Regions from separate parts of the Homo sapiens genome. Here region 2 is linked to region 1. The links are contacts of gene promoters, found by promoter capture Hi-C in blood cells and fetal thymus (Javierre and others, 2016). All regions are on one chromosome and are shown on one strand. The core of a region is centred on a gene start or on the middle of the fragment in contact, and the rest is flanking DNA. Distances in the headings are between cores, read along the strand shown.

Region 1 (4,138 bases), core at 415-2,914:
ATATGTAACAAAGATCAAGACAATCTTCACATGAAACCAAGGGCAGTTATGTCTACAGACACATTTACTGCCCTAAAAGCCAAGCTCGATAAATTGCACAACATAATTTCCATAACTAAACCAGGTTTGTTTAATTTGAATGGCAAGACCTAAAAGGTATAATATAAAGGAATTACAAGACAGAACATTAAAAGACTTTTTTTATCCTTAGGTGGAGAGTACTGTATCTTTTAAATACCTTTCTTATTCCCCTCTCCCCCAACCTTATTAAATTCCTTAAAGGAACAGACCATCTTTGTTCCTATGCTGCAATCTGAAGATCCATGAATAAAGCAGGCACCCAGTAAATACTTGCTAATTTGTGTATTTGACCAACTCTTGACAATTCAATATAACAGACTCAAATATCAAGTTAGTTATAGTTTAAAACAAAACCTTTGTGTGCCCTAGTGAACAATGTAAACACAAATAGCAGAATCCCAAATCTTCTAATCATTGTGTTGCCCTAAATACAAAAGGGTCTCATAGGCCGAATACAGTTCATAAACCAAAATCTCACGTGAGTTACCTTCTCTCTTTCTCTCTATCCACCTTCTAAGTCCATAAAAAATTGAAAACATTCTGAAAAGAACTCTCTCCTGCCTGAGAAAAAATACACCACACATTTAGAACCAAAAGCTTGCCATAAGGGGGCAAAGAGTGAAAAACTCTCATTTCTAATACTTTATTAGAATTCCAAGAACTACGCAAATTCAAACATGTCAAAGCGCCTGTTTCTCCATCGATAAAATGCAGAAAGAAAAACGTGTGTGTGTAGTAGAACCTCACCTAATGGGATAATTAAAATCAGAAAAAGCTAAATACTACTACTGATTAAAAGTTGCCTTGTCATTTGTCTTGCCAGTTGATCTCTTTAAAGTACCTAATCAATCGCTGCAGTCCGCAAACGGCAGTTCCTTCCCATTGGTTACCACAGAAAGTTCTTTCCTGACCTCAAATTGCCTAGTACGTTTCAGCCTCGATGCCTGGTTGGAACCCACAGTTTACCAATATCTGGGGATTGAAAGGACAGGCCAGTGCTGGGGAAATGCTCAAACAGCCTACTCAACACTACCCTCTGGATTCAACCGTCCTCCCAATCCCACAACCAACACAGAGCATTTCAAAAGTGCTTCGCATTCCCAAGAATCCCTCAGATGCAAACGGAGAAACTGAAAAGGGGGTGAACAGGTCGCACCCTGAGGATAATGCCGAGAACCCTAGCATCCCCAAAAGCCCACAAGAGGAAGTCGCGGGAGCTCACAAATTGAGGGGGATTCTCGCATTGTGGAGTTCTAGGGGTAAGTAGCAGGGAACTTTTTTAAAAAGAAAGCAAAAAGATAAAAAGAACAGAACCTCAGATTTTTGTTATTTAAAGAGGCAGCCCCACTTCCGGATCCTACCTCTCCGTGACTCTACTTCCGGTATCTTCCAAAACGCCCGCTTTCACAGATCAAGGTTTTGCAACCAATGAGAGTATCAGCTACTTCCGCCGGCCTGCGGGACGTGATCTAAATCCCGCCTTTTCCGGTGGAGAGGAGCCTATCCTAGTGTCTTAACCGCCCGTCTTGGTAGGCGGTGCCGTGACAAGCCCAACCGGACGGCTGGAGAGGGCGAGAAGGGCAGACGGGACATGCAGCCTCTTCCGCCTGAGCCCCGGAAGGGTGATGTGGCTGCGGCATCGCCGGCCTCGCTATGGTAAGAAGTGGGGCTCCCAGGTCGCGGTTGATCTTCGAGAAGGGGTTGTGGATCTAGACTAGGGCTGGAGTTTGTGCGGCAGCCCGGGGTGTGTGGGCCCGGAGCTGAGAGGCCTTGGAGCCATGTGGTCCCTCCACGGCCAACCAGAGAGAATCAGGACGGACTGTCCGAGGAAGACTGCTGGGTCGGCAGCCCGCCCCTCATGCAAAGTCCGCTTTCCTACTTTGTTTAGGAAAAAAAAATGCGTTGGTGTGTTTTAACACGTTGGCTACGTAGATTATGTGTGGTCATTGACCCTTTGAAGCATTAGCGCTTCTCGAGTTTCCGCTTGTTTTGTTGCAACTCCTTATCTCGCCCTAGGGGCTTTACTCTGGTGTTATTGTTTGATTTTTGGGGGGAGTTTCTTTTGGCACCAAACTCCATACCTTCATTTTCATCTGTTTAGTCAGTAGCCTCTCAAGACCCTTCCACCTTCTTCTCTTAACTTTGAAAATGCTGCTTTACAAGCTATAGGTTTTAATAGTTAAGAGTTCTCTGCAAAGGTGGATTGCCCTTCTAGGAGCTTAATGTACTTATTGGAGTGGTGTCTAGCCTCAGGCCTTCCTCCTCTTTTACCTCCAGGTCCATGTGCCAAATGTTATGTATATTTCTGGACAAAGGATGCATGCCTGCAAATAGACCCAAAAACAACTATGACTCCAAAAAGCTTGAGTCTCCATGGTGAAAAATTATGAGCCTATGTTCACAGAAGTTGCTGCAGAATCCCATATAGCAATAATTCATTTTCTTCTCTGGACGAATTTACCACCTGGTGGGAAGATGGCAGTTGAGACTAGGAAGACTGCCACTCTTAATTCTTATACATCTTTCTAGAAACTGAAGTTGAATTCTTCTACTCGTAGTGCAAGTCAAAGATAACTCTTTTTATTATCTCACTGTCAGACTAGCTAAAAATAAGATGCATATACTGTGCTTAAGATCAACAGTATATAAACTATCTTGTCATGCTTGTTTTTCCAAAAGTAGCAAATGCTTTCATTTATTATCACGTCCTATGTACCAGGCTCTTTTCAAAAAATCAGTTTATAAGCATGGAAATATCAAGTTCACAGCAACTTCTGAATAGATGTTTACAAGTGAAAGAAGTGAAACATGAAGAGACTGACTTGCCTCGGATCACACCTAGTAGATTGTAAAGCCAGTACTCAAACTTATTTTAATGTCCAGGTCCCCGAAATCTTCATGCTGTTATCGATAGAAACACAACATAACTAAGGATGAAATAAGACTTAGTGATTTGTTTCTTATAAATATAAGTACATAAATTAGACATAGGTGGAAAACGGAAACAACTGGCAGGTGGTTTTTTATTCCTGTGAGCTTGGGATGTCAAAAGTACATTGTTTGCAGAGCTACGAAGTGAGGTTTCAAGAAGGCTAACTTAGCAGCTTAAGAAATGGATTAGTGTCTCAGTATCTTTGAGTTCGCATCTAAACTTAGTTTATTTGTGAGGTAACCCAATGGTAATGACTTAATAAACCTGAATTACTGTATTTTAATGATTTTTTTTTTTTTTGAGATGGAGTCTCCCTCTGTTGCCCAGGCTGGAGTGCAGTGGCATAATCTCAGCTCACTGCAACCTCTGCTTCCTGGGTTCAAGCAATTCTCCTGCCTCAGCCTCCCGAGTAGCTGGGACTACAGGCGTGCACAACCACGCCTGGCTAATTTTTGTATTTTTAGTAGAGACGAGGTTTCACCATGTTGGCCAAGATGGTCTCGATCTCTTGACCTCGTGATCCTCCCACCTCAGCCTCCCAAAGTGCTGGGATTACAGGCGTGAGCCACCGTCCCCAGCCAAGAATCTTTTTAAAAAGCATTTCAAGGATAAAATGTTTATCAGCAGTAATAATTTACAACTGTCAGCATGAACAGTAATTGTAGCACTTGTGAATTAATACTTTTAAAGAATTTCAGAATGCCTTGTTCCCCCCAACACCTAACATCCTTCAACATTTCTCTCATGTCTCATCTCTTTCCAAAAAGCCTCCCTTAACCCCTTCTATTTTCTTCTACTCTCTTTAGGTATCTATAGGGATATTCCTAGTTCATATGTATACTTCCAGTATCCCTCTAGCATAACCCTTTTCACAGAAAACAGCAATAAGGTGTTGCCTGCATTTCTCCCTCTCTAGGCAGAATTCTTAAAGACTAGGTATTTTAATCTCTACAGTCACAGTGCCAGCTGGAGTTATTACTCCATTAAGAGTCTGGGCCTGTAATCTCAGCACTTTGGGAGGCCAAGGTGGGTAGATCAACTGAGGTCGGGAGTTGGAGACCAGCCTGACCAGTGTGGAGAAACCCCATCTCTACTAAAAATAAAAAATTAGCCGGGCGTGGTGGC
Region 2 (3,702 bases), core at 458-2,957, 2.7 Mb after region 1:
TATTAAAATTATGTTTACAAAGAATTTTTAATGGCCTGAGGAAATTACCTCATGAAAAAACATTTTAAATATTTAAAAATATTTAACATTGCCTATGTAGTATGAGGTCAGCTATAGTATACAATGTATGTAAAAGAGTGAAGAAAGTATATCAAAATGTTGATAGTAGTCATGTCTATCTGATTAGAATGTAGATGTTATTATCCTGGACAGTCTACATTTTCTACAACATCTATATATTACCTTTATATTCTGGGGAAAAAGAAAAAAACCTCTAATGTAACAAGTGTGATAAGTTGACCAGGAAACCTAAGAATCCATTTCCCCTGTCATTTCAAGTATGGTCTTTAGAGTCTGATTACCTGAATTTGAATTCTAATTCTATAACCTATTAGTTGTGTGGCCTAAATTTTCTAAGCTTGATGCTCCTGTAGTCAAATGCTAATAGAACTAATACATTGATTGAGATAATCCACATAAAGTACTTAACTGAAGCACTGACTGTAAATGATGAATAACTGTTATTCTTTTTTTTTTCTTTTTTTGACAGGATCTTACTATATCACTCAGGCTGAAATGCAGTGGTTGGATCATGGCTCACTGCAGCCCCAACTCCTGGGGCCCAAGTGATCCTCCTACCTCAGCCTCCAGAGTAGCTGGGACCACAGGCGTGCATCACCATGCCCAGATAATTTTTATTTTTATTTTTTTAAAGACAAGGTTTCACTATGTTGCCTATACTGGTCTCAAACTTCTGGGCCCAAGCAATCCTCCCAATTAGAATTCAAATTCAGGTAATCAGGTAGTCAACCTCCCAAAGTGCTGGGATTACAGACATTAGCCACTGTGCCAGCCTAACAATTGCTATTCTTGATGGTTATATTTCTTTTTATAAATTGATCAGTTACATCCATGTTGTTATATCAGTAGCCTATGAATTTGGCTAATGCAAGTATAAGTTCCCTGGAGCACAATTACTTGCAAATACATTTTAAAACTGAATTTCTTAGTCTACTAAACTGAGAATAAGATACAGGGACTTGATGACCACTCCACATGTTTGTCACTATATGAAGACTCGTTTGCTCTGTTTTTGTTTCTGTTTTTGTTTTTTAAGGAGAATTAATAAGTTTGTTCATATAAAATTTGTAGCCTTTGATTACCTTTTAATGCCAAATGTCTACTAAAAATTTAATCTGCTAACAAAGCAATTGCAATACTTTTAGTAGATGTTTAGAATTATAATAACCTTTCCTAATTATGCTTTGAAAGAGTATTTAATTTGGGTTCCACAAAACTTCTGATCTATAAAGTAGTAAAAATAGATGAAATCAACCAACAAACCAAAGTTCAAATCAATGACTACTACTTTAGCCCAATAGTTCTCTGTGGAGGTGAGGGGTGATTTTGCCTCCCAGAGGACGTTTGACAATCTCTGGAGGCATTTTTGGTTGTCACCACTGAAAGAATGCTACTGATATCTAATAGATACAGGCCAGGGATGCCGCTAACTGTCTTGCAATTCACAGGAGAACCCCCAACAACAAAGAAGTTTTCAGCCTAAAATATCAACAGTGCCAAGGTTGAGAAACCCTGATTTAGCCAGTGAGTGGTTTAAAGCTAGTATATTTCTTCCAATTCCTAGTAAACAGTTCCTTTTTTTTTTTTTTTTCTGATGACCACAGCGGCACAAATGTGAGTTCAGAAATTCAGAACTGGGTTTTGAACTTCTACATAAGGCCCTATACCAATGAAAATTAAACTTTGTACCAAGTAGTACCCAAAGTTAACTAGATTAGAGATAAAAAATCTACAATGACCAGTTTTATGGAGCAGACAGCTGGTCAGTTGTACTCTGGCACAGAAAAATGCTCCATTCCTATTGTTCAGTTGCACCAGACACACGTATCATCACTTATTACTAAGAACCACTTTATAAATAGCTGTCATTTATTGATCACCTACTGTTTTCAGCCTTTATCTTATAAGTAAACCAGGTGTTCTCGCAGTATGAACATTGTTGCTCATCCATAAACAAAACCTGAAGTTCAGGATTTCTCCCTGCTGTTATAACTACTTTGTTAAGTACAGGCTGTTATAACTACTTTGTTAAGTACAGCAACACTTACTGGTCAAGGCCTTTATCAAAACAGCAAACTGAAGAACACACTCTCAACAGCCCATTCTCCTTTTGTACAAAGTGCTATAATTTAGTATTGGTTCTTGTGAGAGAGGCTTTTCAATTCTCTAAGGAAAGTTTTAGTTGTGGTGCTCAGATAATCGCTGTAGATCCTTGTATTTAATACAGCAACTGTATTTACTTAAAGTTATAAAGTCAAAAAGCTCAAATAACCAATATTTTTTCTGAGTTCTTTAGAAATATATGACAAACAATAAATTAATGACATAGCAATGATTTGTTGATAAACATAATAAATCTTATGAGCTTTCTATATCAACAGTAAAAAAGAGGAATAACTGGTGTTTAATTCAACAAACACTTATTCATTTTTTTTTTGTTGTTTTGTTTTGTTTGGTACAGGGTTTCACTCCCATTGCCTAGACTGGAGTGTAATGGCTCGATCTCGGCTCACTGCCGCCTCAACCTCTGTGGCTCAAGTGTTTCTCCTGCCTTAGTCTCCCAAATACCTGGGACTATAGGCGCATGCTACTGCACCTGGCTAACTTTTGTATTTTTTGTAGAGGCAGGATTTCGCCATGTTGCCCATGGCTGGTCTGGAACTCCTGGGCTCAAGCCATCCACCGACCTTGGCCTCCTGAAGTGCTGGGATTAGAAGAGTGAGCCACCAAGCCCAGACAGTTTATTAAACATAATTGCATTGTTTTTCCTATTGATCTTGCAGTCATTGCAAGATCTTGCAGTGCTTTTGAATTGACAAAGAAAATAGAGATAAAGTTACATGAATTTTTAGAATTAAATTGTGTTTTATTATATTAAGGTGATTTCCTTAACCATTATAATAAATGAAAGCTTATTCAATTAACCTGGTCCAACCCCTCTCTACACATATATTCAATAAGCAAAAAGAAATGGTCAGTATGGCATGAACCTTAAATTATTTTTTAAAACCAATTGTTATTTTATAATACATTGATTATATTATTTTGTTAACAGATTCAACAATTGTAGCTATGTTAGCTAGTGGTTTCATGTTATTTTGTAACATGTAGTTATGTTACTTTGTAGATTCATGTTACTTTATAACACTAAATACAAGAAATGTGGCTTAGTTTTTGGCTTTGGAACTGAGTAATAAGGAAAATCAACAAGCTACTAAAAACTCAAATGCCTTTCACACACAAATGAAATTGAACTCTGTATTACCTTTATTTGTTTATGGGTGTTTCTTCTGCTGTGCAGTGCATTATGCTAGGAGTTGGAAGAAAGGTGAATAATTCATGTTTTTTGCCATGAAGAAGTTCACAATCCACTGTATCATTCTTTTATTTACTAACAGATATTTGAGAGACTGATGGCAGGTGATAAAGTTACAAGATCTTTGTGTAGATTCTTGGTCAATTAAATTTTCCATGAATTCCTTTGTTGATTGAAATGAAAAAGAAATCTGCATATCAAATTCAGTGTCAAATCAAATATTGACGAAAACGTATCCTTGGCAAAGTTTGGATCATAATTGCTAAAAAATTCCATGTGTCAGCTTTGGCCTCTAAAGAGCTCAG

What was found. The method cuts DNA at HindIII sites, captures the fragments that hold promoters and counts their contacts. A CHiCAGO score of 5 or more calls a contact.
Region 2: a fragment that was not itself captured here is called in contact with the fragment with the promoter of TMEM167A in region 1 in 3 of 17 cell types (total CD8 T cells, total B cells and naive B cells); the score reaches 9.7 in total CD8 T cells.

The regions. Positions count from the first base shown.
Region 1 is chr5:83,074,920-83,079,057 of GRCh38, reverse strand. It overlaps TMEM167A (transmembrane protein 167A), which reads left to right and starts at 1,664. Exons shown (of 4, transcript NM_174909.5): 1 at 1,664-1,737. The coding sequence starts at 1,735. It overlaps XRCC4 (X-ray repair cross complementing 4), which reads right to left and starts at 1,511. Exons shown (of 8, transcript NM_003401.5): 1 at 1,443-1,511. RefSeq lists enhancers at 617-1,582, 1,657-1,926, 1,583-2,548 and a silencer at 1,507-1,596. The HindIII fragment of the contact is 1,765 bases long and covers 681-2,445 here.
Region 2 is chr5:80,401,916-80,405,617 of GRCh38, reverse strand. No RefSeq gene overlaps it. Among named protein-coding and RNA genes, the nearest start is that of ZFYVE16, 4.3 kb to the left of the region's middle. The HindIII fragment of the contact is 2,574 bases long and covers 421-2,994 here.